Linked DNA regions of Homo sapiens: regions 1, 3, 4, 5 and 6 are each linked to region 2. The links are contacts of gene promoters, found by promoter capture Hi-C in human tissues and cell types (Jung and others, 2019). All regions are on one chromosome and are shown on one strand. Each heading gives the region's core, a stretch centred on a gene start or on the middle of the fragment in contact. The rest is flanking DNA. Distances are from core to core; before and after follow the strand shown.

Evidence for each region. Contacts are between HindIII fragments. The study calls those that stand out against the background at their distance.
Region 1: a contact is called between the fragment with the promoter of DOLPP1 here and the fragment with the promoter of ZDHHC12 in region 2, in 3 of the 25 tissues and cell types used here (lymphoblastoid cells, mesenchymal stem cells and mesendoderm cells).
Region 3: a contact is called between the fragment with the promoter of CERCAM here and the fragment with the promoter of ZDHHC12 in region 2, in 6 of the 25 tissues and cell types used here (adrenal gland, dorsolateral prefrontal cortex, liver and 3 more).
Region 4: a contact is called between a fragment that was not itself captured here and the fragment with the promoter of ZDHHC12 in region 2, in 3 of the 25 tissues and cell types used here (dorsolateral prefrontal cortex, neural progenitor cells and stomach).
Region 5: a fragment that was not itself captured here is called in contact with the fragment with the promoter of ZDHHC12 in region 2 in 2 of the 25 tissues and cell types used here (dorsolateral prefrontal cortex and spleen).
Region 6: a fragment that was not itself captured here is called in contact with the fragment with the promoter of ZDHHC12 in region 2 in 1 of the 25 tissues and cell types used here (dorsolateral prefrontal cortex).

The regions. Positions count from the first base shown.
Region 1 is chr9:129,079,707-129,082,510 of GRCh38, forward strand. DOLPP1 (dolichyldiphosphatase 1) reads left to right here and starts at 1,405. Exons shown (of 8, transcript NM_020438.5): 1 at 1,405-1,501. The coding sequence starts at 1,426. RefSeq lists a silencer at 1,103-1,832. The HindIII fragment of the contact is 10,069 bases long and covers 1-2,804 here.
Region 2 is chr9:128,722,600-128,725,528 of GRCh38, forward strand. ZDHHC12 (zDHHC palmitoyltransferase 12) reads right to left here and starts at 1,528. Exons shown (of 5, transcript NM_032799.5): 1 at 1,395-1,528. The coding sequence starts at 1,494. It overlaps ZDHHC12-DT (ZDHHC12 divergent transcript), which reads left to right and starts at 1,863. Exons shown (of 2, transcript NR_046240.1): 1 at 1,863-2,036. RefSeq lists a silencer at 1,417-1,896. The HindIII fragment of the contact is 17,684 bases long and covers 1-2,929 here.
Region 3 is chr9:128,419,512-128,422,614 of GRCh38, forward strand. CERCAM (cerebral endothelial cell adhesion molecule) reads left to right here and starts at 1,346. Exons shown (of 13, transcript NM_016174.5): 1 at 1,346-1,563. The coding sequence starts at 1,367. RefSeq lists a silencer at 732-1,631 and an enhancer at 1,892-2,081. The HindIII fragment of the contact is 34,497 bases long and covers 1-3,103 here.
Region 4 is chr9:128,980,375-128,983,130 of GRCh38, forward strand. It overlaps NUP188 (nucleoporin 188), which reads left to right. Exons shown (of 44, transcript NM_015354.3): 14 at 232-351; 15 at 890-1,016; 16 at 2,175-2,327; 17 at 2,528-2,654. Among named protein-coding and RNA genes, the nearest start is that of NUP188, 34 kb to the left of the region's middle. The HindIII fragment of the contact is 8,140 bases long and covers 1-2,756 here.
Region 5 is chr9:128,437,682-128,440,762 of GRCh38, forward strand. No RefSeq gene overlaps it. Among named protein-coding and RNA genes, the nearest start is that of ODF2, 17 kb to the right of the region's middle. RefSeq lists a silencer at 937-1,110. The HindIII fragment of the contact is 5,750 bases long and covers 1-3,081 here.
Region 6 is chr9:129,040,289-129,043,423 of GRCh38, forward strand. MIGA2 (mitoguardin 2) reads left to right here. Exons shown (of 16, transcript NM_001329990.2): 2 at 164-402; 3 at 2,016-2,226. The coding sequence starts at 307. Among named protein-coding and RNA genes, the nearest start is that of MIGA2, 5.2 kb to the left of the region's middle. The HindIII fragment of the contact is 5,202 bases long and covers 1-3,135 here.

The DNA of each region.
Region 1 (2,804 bases), core at 155-2,654, 360 kb after region 2:
AAGACCATCCTGACCAACACGGTGAAACCCCGTCTCTACGAAAAGTACGAAAATTAGCCGGGCGTGCCACTGCACTCCAGCCTGGGCAACAGAGCGAGACTCCGTCTCAAAAAAAAAAAAAAAAAATTAGCTGGGCATGGCGGCTCACGCTTGTAATCTCAGCATTTTGGGAGCCGAGGCAGGTGGATCACCTGAGGCCAGGAGTTCGAGACCAGCCTGCCCAACATGGTAAGACCCGGTCTCTACTAAAAATGCAAAAATTAGCCGGATGCGGTGGTGCGCGCCTGTAGTCACAGCTACTCGGGAGGCTGAGACAGGAGAATCACTTGGACCCAGGAGGCTGAGCAAGATCGTTCCACTGCACTCCAGCCTGGGCCTCAGAGCAAGACCCTGTCTCAAAAAACAAACAAACAGACAAAAACAGCACATGCTAGCGGCAGGAGACAAGAGGCTGAGCCCTCCCAGCCCACCTTACCTGCACTGTAATCCAATCCAGCCAGAGACAGAGTCGGGTAGGAGAGGTGAAGGCGGGTGGGAAGGTGTGGCTGTTCACGCAGGAATGTCTTGGGAAAACTGAGGGGTAGGTGGAAAACCGACTTCTTGTTTGAAATGCTCCCAAGACGCCTCATTAAGTAGCATAGACGTGACTGAATCAATAAATCTTTATTAAATGAATGAAAGGAGGAAGGAGTCCTTAACTGTAGCTAAGCTTCCACTCTTAAGTATCAATTAAGCTTCTCTGTTCAGTCCAGCGTTTAGGGCGCCTACTGCGCGCCCCGCCCCACACACTTTTGACAAAAAGGTCGCCTGCTCTGTGTGACTTGCCCTTTCGCCGGCCAGTATGGGGCAGAGGGAAATAAGCCCCCTCTGCTCTCTGGTCTCAGTTTACTCGTAACTGAAAGTGGGTCGGTTCAAACCCCCTGGAGCTGAGGTTGCCTCTCCTCTTCGAGCACGCGCTATCGGACGCGCAGGTCCCCAAGACCGCGGATCGGCAGGGGGTACCAGGGAAGCCTTCATTCAGGGCGCAGGTCCCAGCCGAACCAAAGCTCCCACCAAAGTTCAACACGCCCCCAAAGCCAGCGCCTGATTGGCCCGCCCTGCCCACAAGCTGAGGCAGCCTCACCTTCTGATTGGCTGTTATGCTCCCTGTTCGGTGCTGGAACCCTCCCCTTCTCTGATTGGCCAGATGCCTACCTGCGCTCGCCCCAGATTGGGCGCCAGCTGGGGCGGCTCGTTGGCTCCCAGGGGCCCCGCTCTCTGATTCGCCGCTCGGGCCAGCCCCCACGGCCTGCACGCTGAATGGCTGCGCCGCTACCTATATTGGCCTCCGATTGGGTGCACGGCGCCTCCCCGGCGTGATAGGTCAGGACCACCGCCCCCCTGGCTCCCCATTGGCTGCTCGAAGAAGCCCGGTCTCCGGGTAAGATGGCAGCGGACGGACAGTGCTCGCTCCCCGCTTCATGGCGGCCGGTGACCCTCACCCACGTCGAATATCCTGCAGGTAAAAGGCGGTCCCGGCTCCAAGGACGCCTTCCCAGGGACGGCCTCTCAGTCCCGGGCGCTCCGGCCTGCTCGAGCCCGCGGAGGGGGCGCCGGGGGACCGGGGTGGGAACTGTCAAATAGTGAACCACGGAGGGGCTCGGCCGGCGCGCGCGCCGCGCAGGCGCAGTGGTGCGAGGATGAGCTGGGCGAAATTGTGAGGCGCTCGCTCGCGCACTCTGCGGCTGCGCGGCCAGGGCGCTCCCCCGGGTCCCGGGGCGCCGGTGGGCTGAAATGGGTTGAGGATCTGTGTGAGGCGAGAAAAGATCCCTGGCCTGGACCTTGGCCCTTCTTCCCCGCCCTCCCCTGTCCCAGAGAGGCCGCACTCCTGTTCCAGCGTGCAGGGAGTGTCTTGTTTCCTTCGAACAGTGCTTTGGGCTGCTTGTAAGAGAAAGAGCTCCCCGTTGCTGGGAGTGTGCAAGCCGAAGCCAGGCTTTTGAGTACTTGTGGTGCCACGCCCTGAGCAGGGCACGATTCCACAACAGAGAGGACCCGATGAGGGGGCGGGCAGCCTCCGGGAACTTGACTTCTGTTGCTTCCCATCAGACACACCTCTCGAAGTGCAGGGCTTTCCAGTTGAGAGGTCCATTAGCGGCGTTCTGGAGGCTGTCTAGTAAGAGTGGCGCAGAGCCTGGGCGTGGGGGTCAGACCCATCTGGGCTCCAGTTGAGGCTGAGGCCTTGTGCAGGTGCCTGCCTCTGCTTAAGTTAATTCATCTCTAAAGTGGGACTGATTACAGTGCTTACCTTCTGGTGATGGTATGAGCATCAAATAGCAGGAGGCACAAGAAGGGCTGAGTACAGTGCCCGGCATGCAGTAAGCGTTCAGTAAATACCTGCAGTTAATGTTATCCCACCTTGCAAGACCCTCCCTGGGTAAGATGGTTGAGTGCCAGGGAAGGCTGGAGCCCCTCATTGAGCCCTGGTTGCCTGGGAAGGGCCTGCTCATGCTGCTGTCTTGCGAGATGTGAGAACCTGGGTCCGCTGAGGGCACCAGGACTGAATGCCAAAGAACGTTGACGCTGGTGTTCTGGGTTGTACTGGGGGTGGTATGGCCCTGCCAGGTCCTGGGCCCTGCCTGCCTGCCTGTCTACCATTCATTCATCCATTCATTCATTCAGTCAATATCCACTGAACACTTCTGAGTGCTAGGCCCTGGGCTAGCTCTGGTTTTTAGAATGCTTAACAGGCCTGAAATATCCCTGCATTCCTGCACTATGAAAACCAGCTGCTTTATAAGAGGAAAGCCAAAGCCTGGAGGTGGGGA
Region 2 (2,929 bases), core at 278-2,777:
GGCTGGGCCGGGTAGAACAGGAGTGGGTGGGGTTGGGGTGCAGTTGGAGGTGGGGAAGTGTGTTCCTGGCTGAGCAAAGGCCTGGAGATGTTGGTTCCATGAGTGGCTGTGTGTGGCCAGCAGTTCATCTGCACTTTTATCTGGAGGGTCAGAGGGAACCATGGAAGGTTATAGAGCCAGATCTGTTTTGGAAAACCTCATTGCTAAAGAAATGGATCAGGGGAAGCCTGGGGGCAGAGAATCTGGCCAGGAGGAAGAAGAGAGTCGCTACAAAGGCCTGGCAGGAAGTGAGGGAGGAAGGAATGGACAGGGGGCTGCTGGGTCAAGGGAGCCAGACCTGACTGGATGTGGGAGAGAGGGAAGAGGGGTCCAGCGTCTCTGGCTCTGCAATGGTGAGAGACTGGTTAGGTCTGAAATGCCTGAGAGAGATACAGTGGGAAGGGTGCAGCTGGCAGGCTCAGATGCTGCAGAGGGGCATACGGAAGGGTCCAGCAGGCTTCAGCCCAGGGAGGTGACAGGATTTTGGGGAGGTAGGGTGCAGGGCAAGGAGTGAGGGGGCATGAGACCACCAGACAGCAGAGTGTAGACAAATCCTGTGTCCCTTGGTTGTAAGGGGGAGCAGAGAAGAAAGGGTGGGTTTTGAGGGGGGTTTTCTGATACGGAGACCTGAGCAAGTTTTTAGGCTAAAGGGTGAAGGTGGTGGAGGAGGTCTGTCTTGGGAGGAAAGCCAGAAGGGGCCCCAGTCCAGAAACTGAGGCTGGACCGCCATGGAAGGAGGGCTGGGGTCTGCTGTGGGGGACAGTGGGGGAGGCTGCCTGTGGCAGGTGAGGCGCTGGGTAGGGGGCTACTAAGAGGAATGAGGGAAATGGAGGTGGGTGGGTGGGTGAATCTGTGGGAAGATGGGAGACAGGCCGCACCCCATGGAGTGTTCTCTGGCCTGAGGGTTTGCCTGGACTTGGGCAGCTAGTGGCCATGGGGGTGTGGGGGGTGTGGGTGTGGGCAGAATGCCAATCTTTGCATCTAGTTGAGCCTCCTAATCGTATGGATAGGAAGATTTGGGGTCAGTTCCTGGGAAGGATCATGTGGGTCCCAGGATCAGGGGACATGGGGCTCAAGTCGGTCCTTGGATCTGGTGGGCACCGGCTGGGTCCTGGGATGGACAGGGCATTTGGCAATGATCAGGAAGATGCTGGGATTAATTAGGGATCAACGGGGTATCAGACAGAGAGCAGGTGGCTCTTGGAATGATAGATGGGGAGAGGGCTTCAGGAGCTGGTGGAGATCGGGCCAATCCCAGGATCTCCAGGGATTAGGCGGGAGACCCAGTGTGACCAGAACGTCTGGGGAAGTACGCGGGATCGGGTGGGTCCGGGGTCGCTCGGGGTCCGGCTCACCGGTATCGTGCAGGAAGAGCACCAGCGTGATTCCCCAGGTCAGCACGGTGTGCCCGGTCCGCACCAGGACCCCAGGGCTGAGGAGCGCCCAGGGCGCCATCGCCTCGGCCCGGGGCCCCACCCGGAAGAAGCGCCCAGAGGGGCGGGCCCTCCGAGGGAGGGGAACGCCGCCGCCCGGGGACTGGTGGATCTAGGCGTTGGGCGGGGCCGGACTGGGTCAGGGAGGCTGCCTATTGGATGGCATCTGCGGCCGAATGGACCCTCAAGCCAACAGGTGCCTGAAGAGGCTGAGGGTGGGGCCGGCGCGCGCGCAGCTGGTAACTCCCTCAACTCCAGCCCCACCCGCCAGGTAACTTTTGAAAGCGCCGGAGCGCGCGCGCACCTCCCCCGCGCTCCGCTGTGCCCTCCCCCGCGTTCCCCTGTGCCCGCCCTCGCAGCCTCGCGCATGCGCGTAGCTCCCTGGGCGCTTCGAAGATCCAGCGGCTTGCTGTGAGTCCGGGAGGCAAAATTGTACCCATTTCAAAGATGTGATGACTAAAGTCTCGAGAGGGCCAAGGCTCGCCCAAGGTTGCTCTGTGGTGACAGCTTTACCTCCTTGCTATGTATTCTCAGATATTGCAAACGGACGAGAGAAAAGTGGAGGTACGTGGTGCACATTCTGACTATGGGTGATCCAACTTAGGCGGGAGTCAGAAATCCCAGCACTGCCCCTTCCTACCTGTGTGACCCTGGGCGAGTTACTGAGCCCCTCTGAGCTGTTTTCTGTCTCTATAAGGGGGATTACAATAGTGTCTTCCTCCTAAGGTGTTTGGGAGGATTAAATAATGGAAGCGCCTTGTCTAGCACGGGACTGTCTTGCCTCTCCTGCTGTGAGCCACCACCTACAGGCGGACTTTCCTCACCGGAGGCTGCAGGCTGTCCTCCTTCCCTGTGTCCCCAGGGCCTTCTCCACTCAGCCCCGCCTTTCCACAGCACCTCCCACTGATACCAGCATCCTCCTCCGCCTCCCTCTGATTGGCCCCATCCCAGCTCCTCCAGGATACTCCTCTGACATCTGTTGTTTTTCTCAGCTCAACATCCTTTTTTTGGTTGGGGAATCGACTTCCCATCCCATGTGATTGGAGGGACTGCCCCTCACCCCATAGGATGGCGAGCGGCAGGCTGTGGGCTTTCGACTCTGCAGAACCAATCACAGGCCTTCCATGAGATTACTGTCTAGATGCTGAGAGGAAGGAGCATTCTTTTGGATCTCAAGCCTAAGGAATGGGATATAAGGCAACTGGGAGCCGTCTTTACGCTGGGCGGAGAGGGCTTACCCTGTCTGTGGCTGGAGAAAATGAGACCAACTTATAAAGACACATAGAGATGGATAAGCAGCACTAAAGGAGGGAGCAAGAGATGGTCTGAACAACATTGTCTGAGCCCTCTAGATCCGGCTGTCCCTGAAGCTGATACTGACTCTGCATCCCCTGGTTGCAAGAGTCAATGAATGCCCACCTTTTTTTTTTTTTTTTTTTTGAGACAGAGCCTCACTC
Region 3 (3,103 bases), core at 96-2,595, 300 kb before region 2:
AAAGCTGCCAGTGCATTCATTCTCTCGAGGAATCCCTGCAAACCCTCCCAGATGGGTGGCGTTATCAGCCCGATTTTACCCGAGAGGCTCCTGAGGGAAAGGGACCTGTCTGAGGTTGGTGACAGACACCCAGTTCGATCCCATCTGTGGTGCCGCCAGGCCGCTCCCTTTTCTGCTCCTCTCCCGAGAGGCTGCAGAGTTCTTTCCCTCCCAGCAGGGTCCTAAGGACCCCGGCGGTGCTCCAGGGGAGCCAACATCCCCTGCTTTGGAGGACGGACGGGTCGGGTCGCAGTGAGCAGCTCCGTGGTGTCCCCTAGTTCTACACTCAGACCAAGAGAGGGCTGTGAGGGCTGTGCTCTTTTTTTTTTTTTCTTTTTGAGACGGAGTCTCGGTCTGTCATCCAGGCTGTAGTGCAGTGGCGCGATCTCGGCTCACTGCAACCTCCGCCTCCCGGGTTCAAGCGATTCTCCTGCCTCAGCCTCCCAAGTAGCTGGGAGTACAGGCACCCGCCACGACGCCCGGCTAATTTTTGTATTTTTAGTACAGATGGGATTTCACCATCTTGGCCAGGCTGGTCTTGAACTGATCTCAGGTGATCCTCCCGCCTCGGTCTCCCAAAGTGCCGGGATTACAGGCGTGAGCTACCACGCCCGGCCTGGCTGTGCTCTCTTAAAGGGCCGAAGCAATGCGGGTGCTGGCGACCGACGCAAGGAGGTGACGCACAGGGGACTTAAGGAGCGGACCGCCGCGGGAGGACGCGCCCAGCTCAGGGGGACTCCCTCTGCGCCCCCCACGCTGGGTCTCCGGCCCACGCGTGGCCCGGCTGGTCTGCGGAGCTAGCGCCAGGGCCGCCAGAGGGCGCCCGGGGCGGAGGATGGGGCGGGAGCCGGGGAAGCCCGGGAGGTGGTGGCCGAGTGGGCGCCGCCCCTCTGGGTCTGCGGCTCAGGTCGAAGAGTCGGCTGCGTGGGCCGGGGAATCCGGATTCCGGGGGTTCAACGCCCAGGGGTTCCATGAGCCCCTACTGTTCTCGGACGCCCGGCCGGCCCCGACGCACTCGTCCTAGCACCCCTCCCCTGTCCGGTCCTCCGGCCCCTCCGCCGTCGCCCCTCCGGGGTCCAGCCGGGCGGGGCTGCTCCAGGGTCGCGGCTGGCGCGGGTCCCCGGGCCCTGGCCCTCCGGTGCCCCGGGCCAAGGAGAGAAAACTTGAGCATCCACGCACAGGGGTGGGGAGCAGGATCCCACTCTGAGGGTGCACTGCCCCGCCCTCTCCGGGTCTGCCTCGGCCCCGCCCGGGCCCCAGGCCCCGCCCCCTCCCCTCGGCCGGCCCGAGAGCTCCGGGGGCCGCTGCAGCCGCCCAAGCGCCCGCCATGCGCGCTGCCCGCGCCGCGCCGCTGCTCCAGCTGCTGCTCCTGCTGGGGCCGTGGCTGGAGGCTGCGGGCGTTGCGGAGTCGCCGCTGCCCGCCGTGGTCCTTGCCATCCTGGCCCGCAATGCCGAACACTCGCTGCCCCACTACCTGGGCGCTCTGGAGCGGCTGGACTACCCCCGGGCCAGGATGGCCCTCTGGTGAGAGACCCGGGCATTGGCACCGAGTGGGCACCTAACCCCCAGCTTCGCAGATGGCCCCCGCCCCCGGCGGCCCTGTCTGCTCGCTCCCTGCCCAGACACCACCTAGACAGGCCCCTCCCCTCACAGACGGCCCTGCCAGCCCGAGCCGCCAGAGAGGACCCCGAGCCCCCTGCTGGGAGACGACAGACCTCTGAGGCCACAGGCCGACGCGGGACACCCACCCCTCCTTCTGGTCCCCTACTCCTTCCTCTTGGGGCCTTCCCTGGGTGTAGGTTGGGCCCAGCCAGCCCTTTTCACCCCAGCCTTCAGGGCCCAGCTCAACCCCAGTGGGACCTGTGGTTGGCTGGATTTGAAGAGGAGCAGACAGGAACCTCTGAAGTCCACTGGGGCCCAACGTGGCAGGGATCGACCACGCTGGAGGCTTCCGGGCACAGGTTGGGGGTGCCATCAGCACTGGGCTCCGGGCTGTGCAGGGGAGTCAGACCGGCCCCCCCACCGCCCCCGTGCTGGGGCCAGCTCTCTTGGTAGATCTTGGTAGAGGGGCGGGATCCTGTCAGCCAAGGGCAGTCCCCCTTCCTGGAGCCTCTCCCCTCTGGCATCTCTGTACCCCCAGGGCACTGGGATCGAAGGCCACAACCCCTGGTCTGTAGACACCAGAACAGGGAGGAGTCCCTGGCTGAGGTTGGGGGTAAACTGAGAAAAATGACAAGCCACCCTCTTCAACACACCACAGTTGGGCTGGGGGGGTGGAGCCCTGGCCTGGGGAGGCCGCCCACAATTACCACAGTTTGGGAGTTTGTTAGTTCCCACCCCTGTAAGACTTGACACGTAGTCTTCATTTCTGGGGAATTGGCTTAAAGGGGCAGCATCACCCAAAACCTGGGCACTTGGCTAAACCCCCACCTCTGTTATGGGGGCCCCTTCCCCAGGAGAGGGGAGGCTGTGCCCCATGACAGCAGAGCTTGGACCCATCTGCATTCTTAGGGACGCTTAGAGCATGGTTTGGTCCTTATTACAACCTGGGGGTGGAGGAAAGCAGCAGCTCTTCTGTCTAGTCCCCATTCAGAGAGGGACAGGGGCTGGCCTGTGGTCACACAGCCACAGGTCACATAGGTAGGTATCTGCCCACCTAACGAAGGTAACCAGGGAATGCACCAGGTGTGATCCTTAAAGTCGAGGTACTTTTCATCTTTCAAAATGCATTCGTTGGCCAGGTGTGGTGGCTCACGCCTGTAATTTCAGCACTTTGGGAGGCCGAAGTGGGCAGATCACCTGAGGTGAGGAGTTCAAGACCAGCCTGGCTAACATGGTGAAACCCCATCTCTACTAAACAAACAAAAATTAGCCGGGCATGGTGGTGCACACCTGTAATCCCAGGTACTCAGGAGGCTGAGGCAGGAGAATCACTTGAACCCGGGAGGCGGAGGTTGCAGTGAGTCGAGATCATACCACTGCACTACAGCCTGGGCGACAGAGCAAGATTCCATCTCAAAAAAAATGCATTATTCTTCTCTTATCTTTGTCCATGACATAAGCA
Region 4 (2,756 bases), core at 37-2,536, 260 kb after region 2:
TGGGAAGAGGTCACTGGATAGAATAGTAATCTTTTTTTAGGTCCCTCACTAAATCAATTATTTTATATCCTTTTTCAGTGGAAATATGAAAGTCTTAAATTATTAAGGAGGGATGATATCTGTCTAAAAGGAAGGATTAATTCTAAATTTTCTCATGATTGCTGGGAAATTTGGAGAGATGTTAATTTGTGGATAATGTGAAGATCAGTGATTTGTCCCCTTCCACCACAGGAGCCAACTTCTGGCCTTGGGATCATTCTGGACAGTGTGTGTGGAATGTTTCCCCACCTTCTCTCCCCACTCCTGCAACTGCTCCGAGCCCTGGTATCAGGGAAGTCCACAGCCAAAAAGGTAAGTTGCTTAGTCAGATAAGTAAAGAGAATGGGAGATTCTTTATGGAGACTTTATTAGGAATCTTTTTTGCTTTCCACATTGCAGTTCTACTGCCATGACAAAAGTTTGTCTGAAGGTGAATGAAAGATACCAAAGATAGCACCTCAATTCTAAAAAATTAAATAATCTTTTCATTAAGTACCTATTGTAGATACTGTGGGACTAAGACTAAGTATAAAGTTCCTTAATATCTAGTTGGAAGTTACTAGATATAAGAAATAAATAGCTAAGAGCCAGGTGGTACAGAGTAAATGTCATTTGAGCAATAAAGACCATACTGTTCAGGAGAGATAACTGCCCTTGTGGAGTGATGGGGACTTGAGTTGAGTGTTAAAGCCCAGTGAAGATTTGGCGAGGGGCGCAGAAGGCAGTTCCAAGAACAGTCACAGTGGTGGGCTTGCAAGAAGTTTGAGAGTCTGGTTGAAAGAGCAGACTGTGGGACCTCTCCTTGCTTATCCTGGAGGGAAATGTGTGATGGTTTTTTCTGTTTTGGCAGGTGTATAGCTTCTTGGATAAGATGTCTTTCTACAATGAACTTTATAAACACAAGCCTCATGATGTGATCTCCCATGAAGATGGAACTCTTTGGCGGAGACAAACACCCAAACTCCTTTATCCCCTTGGTGAGATAAAGAGATCCCCCTTTTATGACAGCTTTTTTTTTTTTTGATGTCTTGCTCTGTCACCCAAGCTGGAGTGCAGTGGCAAGATCATAGCTCACTGCAGCCTCAAATTCTTGGGCTCAAGTGATTCTCCCACCTTAGCCTCCCAAAGCACTGGGATTATAGACGTGAGCCAATGCATCCAGGCAGTTACACTCTGAGGCTCACATCTGTACCAGGTGCTCAAAGAGGAAAATATACAGGGAATAGCCTCACCGTTTTAATCCTGGCATCATCACCACTGACTTCTCCAGTCATCTAGGCACTAACAGTCCTATGAGGTACTGTTGTTATCATCATTTGAATGGAAAACTGTTCTTTGCACTCAAGTGATTTTCAGACATATAGAAAGAGTCACTTGTCGGCCAGGTGTAGTGGCTCACGCCTGTAATCCCAACACTGGGATTACAGGCCAAGGTGGGCGGATCACGTGAGGTCGGGAGTTCGAGACCAGCCTGACCAACATGGAGAAACCCCGTCTCTACTAAAAATATAAAATTAGTCGGGCGTGGTGGTGCATGCCTGTAATCCCAGCTACTCGGGAGGCTAAGACAGGAGAATCGTTTGAACTTGGGAGGCAGAGGTTGCAGTGAGTTGAGATCGCGCCATTGCACTCCAGCCTGGGCAGCAAGAGCAAAACTCCATCTCAAAAAAAAAAAGACACTTGTCTACATGACAAGAACTTTTTTGTGTATTTTAGTTGAAAAAGCTTTAGGAATGTTAGCTACTAAGAAGAAAGCCTGTGAATCCCAGAACTTTGGGAGGCCAAGACAGGCAAATCACTTGAAGCCAGGAGCTCAAGACCAGCCTGGTCAACATGGAAAACCCCATCTCTACTAAAAATACAAAAATTAGCCAGGAGTGGTGGTGCGCACCTGTAGTCCCAGCTACTTGGGAGGCTGAAGCACGAGAATCACTTGAACCCAGGAGGTGGAGGTTGCAGCGAGCCGAGATCGCGCCACTGCACTCCAGCCTGGGCAAGAGGGAGACTCTGTCTCAAAAAAAAAAAATGTCTGTGAGTTTGTGTATCTCTGTGTGTTTAAAATATTGATGTCTGGTAGAGGAGTTACATTTTTTATTTATCCTCAGATATTAGACTAATTTATCTTTCTCTCTCAGGGGGTCAAACCAACCTTCGCATACCTCAAGGCACTGTGGGCCAAGTAATGTTGGATGATAGGGCATACCTGGTACGCTGGGAATACTCCTATAGCAGCTGGACCCTCTTTACCTGCGAGATTGAAATGTTGCTTCATGTTGTTTCAACTGCAGGTAAGGTCAGCTTTCGGAAACATCACCTACGAGGAGGAAAAGTGGATATGCTTGGAGGATTTAGAAAATAGAATATCTACATAAAATTTAGAACCATCAAGATTGTGATTTGTCTGATTTGTGTATCTGGGTCTCAGAGACTGTTCAGTGATCTTAAAGGGGTTGTTTGCCGTGAGGTCACAGGCTGTCTTTCTTCTCAGATGTGATTCAGCACTGCCAGCGAGTCAAACCCATCATTGATCTCGTCCATAAGGTCATCAGTACAGACCTGTCGATAGCAGACTGTCTCCTGCCCATCACATCTCGCATCTACATGCTGCTGCAGCGGTGAGTCTGTCTTGGCTGACCCTCAGCTGCCCAGTAGAGATCTCAGCACTTGTGCCCTCAGTTTGCAGGAACCTGGACACATACCCACTGGGTTAAAGTTCG
Region 5 (3,081 bases), core at 371-2,870, 280 kb before region 2:
GCTCAAACAATCTATCCACCTCGGCCTCCCACAGTGCTGGGATGAGAGGCGTGAGCCACTGCACCCTGCCACTTTATATATATACATATATATACACGTATATACGTATATATACACGTATATATACATATATACGTGTATATACACGTATATACACATACACGTATATACACGTATATACACATACACGTATATACACGTATATACACATACACGTATATACACGTATATACACATACACGTATATACACGTATATACACACACGTATATACACGTATATACACACACGTATATACACGTATATACACACACGTATATACACGTATATACACACACGTATATACACGTATATACACACACGTATATACACGTATATACACACACGTATATACACGTATATATACGTGTATATATGTACACATACGTGTATATACATGTATATATGTATACATACATATATATACATGTATATATATTTGTTTGTTTTTAAGACAGAGTCTCGCTCTGTCACCCAGGCTGGAGTGCAGTGGTGTGATCTCGGCTCACTGCAGCCTCCGCCTCTTGGGTTGAAGCGATTCTCCTTCCTCAGCCTCCCTAGTAGCTGGGATTACAGGCATGTGCCACCACGCCCAGCTAATTTTTGTATTTTTACTTTATATTTTTTAACTCATGGCTGAGCCTCTGCATCTCAGCTGGCCTGGGAGGAGGCTTCCTGATCTATGGTTGAGCAATTGGAGGGACAGAGAGGGGAGGACAGGTGAGGAGTCAGGCCGATCCAGCATCACCTCTGTGCTGGGTGATCTTGGGTGGGTGCCATCCCTTCCCTGGGCCTTAGTCTACTCTTCGGTCATTGTGGCTGGTTGGGTATAGAGTGGCCTAGCCTGAGCCCGGCTCACAGTGAGTGCTCACCTGTTGGGGCTGATGTGGTCATCCCCGAAGTCATTACCAGCCTCACCTTGCTGGTCAGGGTGGGCCCAGCCAGTCCAAGGGCTGCTGATGTCCCCCGGCCCTTTGGATCATCTCTTGTGCAGCTGAAACCCTGGCTTAGGGGAAGAGGAACCGCCTGGGAGGGGCTGGGGGAGATCCTGGGTTCCCCTCTGGCACTAACCAATGTGGCCACCAGAGGGCGCAAGGTGGCAGAGCCTGGACTTGGCCAGGATGCTCTCTGCTGGGTTGGGGCCAACACCAGGAAGGAAGCATGGGCCATAGGGAAGCTCCCATTGGTGCTGGGGCAACCCGCAGCAGCTCTGCGTCTTCTGCTCTTCTGATGGGAACTGCAGGCCTCTCCCCTGGCCCCAGAGAGTCGGGCTTCTGGGCCCAGCCGCTGTCTGTCATGCCTGCACTCAGGCAGCTGGAGGGGTGGGAGGGGAGATGGCTCCTGGCCTTGGCCATGGCTGCTTTGGCTTCCACCGTTCCTGCTCCTCTTCCATGTGGCCCCCTGACTTGGTTGTGTGAGCACTCCAGTCCTGGCAGAGCCTGACAGGCACTCCCTGAGGTTGGGGTATCCCTTGGCTCTGTCCTGGGGTTGAGGTCCAGGACCTGGCACGGCTGTGAGAAGGACCTTGGGCTGGAGCTGTGGACTCGGTGCTTTATTCGTTCTAAGATGAAAGTCATTCATTCTGGATGGCTATGACCTTGAGCGACTCACTTCTCTCCAGGCTCCAGGTGTCCCCTTCATTCATTTGTTAACCTTTATTAAGCACCTCCCATGGGCCGCAGTCAGGCCCTGGGGATTCAGCAGTGAATGAAACTGACAAAACCCCTGACCTCATTAAACTGACATTCTTTTTTTTCTTTTTTTTTTGTGGCGGAGTCTCACTCTATCACCTTCTGTCACCACACCCGGCCAAAACTGACATCCTAATGAGGGATGCAGACAAAAACAAAGAAAGATCAGAGGGTGTGAATTGCTATAGAGAAAAATGAGAAGCGGAGAGATACAAAGTAAGATCTGAGAAGTTAACACCTGAACAAAGACGCAGGAGTGGGCCAGGCATAGTTGCTCATGCCTGTAATCCTAGCACTTTGGAAGGCCTAAGCAGATGGATCACTGGAGGCCAGGAGTTTGAGACCAGCCTGGCCAACATAGGGAAATCCCATCTCTATTAAAAATACAAAAATTAGTCAGGTGTGCTAGCGGGCGCCTGTAATGCCAGCTACTCGGGAGACTGAAGCAGGAGAATCACTTGAACCTGGGAGGTGGAGGTTGCAGTGAGCTGAGCTTGCACCACTGCACTCCAGCTTGGGCGACAGAGTGAGACTCCATCTCAAAAACAAAAGACTTCGCCAGGCAGGGTGGCTCACACCTGTAATCCCACCATTTTGGGAGGGCGAGGCAGGTGGATCACGAGGTCAGGAGTTCAAGACCAGCCTGGCCAAGAGGGTGAAACCCCGTCTCTACTAAAAATACAAAAATTAGCCAGGTGTGGTGGTGGGCGCCTGTAGTCCCAGCTACGTGGGAGGCTGAGGAAGAGAATTGCTTGAACCTGGGAGGCAGAGGTTGCAGTGAGCCGAGATCAAACCACTGCACTCCAGCCTGGGTGACAGAGTGAGACTCCGTCTCAAAAAAAAAAAAAAAATAGACAAAAAAAAAAAAAAAAAAGACTTTAAGGAGGGGAGGGGCTGAGCCTTGGGGATAGCAAAAGGAAGAGCTTCCAAGCAGAAGGAACAGCATATGCAAAGGTCCTGAGGCAGAAGCAGGACTGACAGTGCAGAAGAGAGGAGGACCAGTGTCTAGAGTTGATAGAGCCAAGGCTGGGGCCAGAGCAGGGATGGCCATGAAGGCCATTTTGGCTTTTACTCTGAGATGGAGCCCCCAGAGAGATGGAGGCAAAGAAGTAACCATCTAACTTACATTTTTACATGATCACCCTGGCAGAGATGTGGCATGATCTCATGTAGTGTTATAAGATCACACCGGCTACTGTGCTGAGAATAAACTGTAGGCAGGTCCATGGAAGAAACAGTGAGACCAGTTAGGAACCCACTGTAATAATTCAAGCATGGCTGGGCGTGGTGGCTTATGCGTATAATCCTAGCACTTTGGGAGGCTGAGACGGGTGGATCACCTGAGGTCAGGA
Region 6 (3,135 bases), core at 343-2,842, 320 kb after region 2:
CTGCTGGCGGGCAGATGCAGAGGCCTGGGGCCTGATTCCAGGCCTGGGGTTCCAGAGGCAAGCTTTGCTCCTGCCTCCTCCCCCATGGACGCTCTTCTTGAGTGCATTTCTGCATGTTCCCGTGTGCACGTTCTCTTATCTGACTTGGTCATCTGTCTCTTAGCTCTGTGGAGGGGCCCTCTGGTATGTGTGTCCCTGTCCTTCTGGGGCGTGGATGGTGCCTGGGACCCAGCTGGCAACCAGTTGAAGACGTTCTCCTTGGAAGCTCTTGGCCCTGAGGACTTTGCCTGGGGCATTGGCCCTGCCATGGCGTTCCGGAGGGCCGAGGGCACGTCTATGATCCAGGCCCTGGCCATGACGGTGGCCGAGATCCCCGTGTTCCTGTACACGACGTTTGGGCAGGTAAGGATCAGGGTGGGTTGTACCTCTGGTCTATGAAACACTTCCATGCTCAGCCAAGGGCTCCTCCGTGTCCAGGAACGCTGAGCCCTCGTTCTTGCTTTGCCAAACCTCTGGTGTCTCCTCTTTGGACTGGGTTTGTTGTCTGAGGCTTCAGGCCTGTTCTTTAGCCTGAGACTATACGAACTCTTTTTTTTTTAATTAATTAAAAAAATTGTATTGGCCGGGTGCGATGGCTCACGCCTGTAATCCCAGCACTTTGGGAGGCCGGGACGGGCGGATCACCTGAGGTCAGGAGTTCAAGACCAGCCTGGCCAACATGGTGAAACCCTGTCTCTACTAAAAATACAAAAATTAGGCGGGTAGGCTGGGCACAGTGGCTCATGCCTGTAATCCCAGCACTCTGGGAAGCTGAAGCAGGTGGATCACCTGAAGTCAGGAGTTCAAGACCAGCCTGACCAATATGGTGAAACGCTATCTCTACCAAAAGTACAAAAATTAGCCAAGCATGGTGGTGTGCACCTGTAGTCCCAGCTACTTGGGAGGCTGAGACAGAATTGCTTGAACCCAGGAGGCGGAGGTTGCAATGAGCTGAGATCATGCCACTACACTCCAGCCTGGGCGACAGAGCGAGACTCCGCCTCAAAAAAAAAAAAATTAGCTGGGCATGGTGGCAGGTGCCTGTAATCCCAGCTACTTGGGAGGCTGAGGCGGGAGGATCACTTGAACCCAGGAAGCGGAGGTTGCAGTGAGTCGAGATCGCACCACTGCACTCCAGCCTGGGCAACAGGGTAAGACTCCGTCTCAAAAAAAAAAAAGTTTTTCGTAATAGAAATAGGGCCTTGCCATTTTGCCCAGGCTGGTCTTGAACTCTTGGGCTCAAGCCATCCACCTACCTTGGCCTCCTAAAGTGCTGGGTTTATAGGCATGAGCCACTGCACCTGGTCCTATATGAACTCTTGACCTCAGTTACTCAGTCTGTAAAAGGGGTCAGTGCCCTCCCTGACAACTCACATGTTTGTGGCTGACTGGGATCTTGACCGAAGATCTGCCTTGTGGGGTACAGTCCCATCTGAGGGGCTCCCAGGCCTGGGGGGCAGAGGGTGAGGTGCAGCAGTAGGAATTGTTCAGATGGGGTGGCAGGTGAGTGAGTGTCATCATCTTTGAGGCATCACTGAGAAATGGGGGTCAGCAGATCTGGGTTTCATGTCTGCCTCTGTCACCTTGAGTATATGTCTTCATGTGGGTGAACCTCAGGTTCCTCGTCTGGAAATGACAGGGACTCAGATGGGTACCCCAGGCTAGGTCCTAGTGCAGTGCCGGGCACAGCTGGTGCTTGTTCACTGCGGCTTGTGTGCTCATGACTGAGGGTGCTGGCCCCTAGACCTCACCTTCTCGGCACTGGCATCTTGCCATCTTTATGTTTTTGTGGCCTGTGTTTCAGGGAGGCTGGTCAACTTCCCCGTCTAGGGTGGCTGCCTCTCAGTCTCTCATCTGGTCGGCAGATGTGCCGGAGAGCCGGTGTGTGTCCCGTCCCTGAGGTGCTCTGGGGCGGTCCTGCTGCCTTGGACCTTCCCCAGGGAGGTGTAACCGGCAGCGTCTCCTCTTCCCTGCAGTCTGCATTCTCCCAGCTACGGTTGACGCCAGGCCTGCGGAAAGTCCTCTTTGCCACGGCCCTGGGGACTGTGGCCCTGGCCCTGGCTGCCCACCAGCTGAAGAGGCGACGGAGGAGGAAGAAGCAGGTTGGTCCCGAGATGGGAGGGGAGCAGCTGGGCACGGTGCCCCTCCCTATCCTCTTGGCCAGGAAGGTCCCTTCAGTGAAGAAAGGTAGGTGTGAGGTGGTGGGCATAGGCCTGACCTGAGGTCACATCCTGGGGTCATATCCCAGCTGGGTCACTCTCTACTTGGGGATATTGGGCCAGTGTCTTCCTGTCTCAGAGCCAAGGTCTCCTGATCTGTGAGCGGGATGACAGTAGCGTCCCTCCCTCCAGTCACTGTACTGGAGGGTGATGTGGTTGGATGCGCATGCTCCATTGGTGGAGGTGGTTTTGGTTGTTCTCATTAGCTGAGGACCCTTTGGGAGCACCTTGGTCAGAGGGGGTCGGGGATGTGGCTCCTGGGTCCAGAGAGGGATGTTCCCCAGGCTGAGGAGCAGGAAGAGCCATGTGGTTCTTGAATGATGCAGTATTCCTCCCATTCCCTTCTCTCTTAAAAATTGAGGTTTAGGCCGGGCGCGGTGGCTCACGCCTGTAATCCCAGCTCCTTGGGAAGCCGAGGCGGGCAGATCACAAGGTTAGGAGATCGAGGCCATCCTGAATAACACGGTGAAACCCCGTCTCTACTAAAAATACAAAAAATTAGCCGGGCATGGTGACGGGCACCTGTAATCCCAGCTACTCAGGAGGCTGAGGCAGGAGAATGGCGTGAACCCAGGAGGCGGAGCTTGCAGTGAGCCGAGATTGCGCCACTGCACTCCAGCCTGGGTGACAGAGCGAGACTCCGTCTCAAAAAAAAAAAAAATTTGAGGGTTAATTTGCATGCAGTAAGATTCGTACTTTTTAGCATACTATTCTGTGTCTTTGACACATAGAGTCATCCGACCACCACCATAGTTAGGAATCATTCAGCTGGTTGGAAGGTAGTGAGTTCACTCAGTCGATTGCTCACAGTCACAGATCACACTCCTTCTGTTCTCTCTTTTTTTTTTTTTTTTTTTTGAGATGGAGTCTTGCTCTG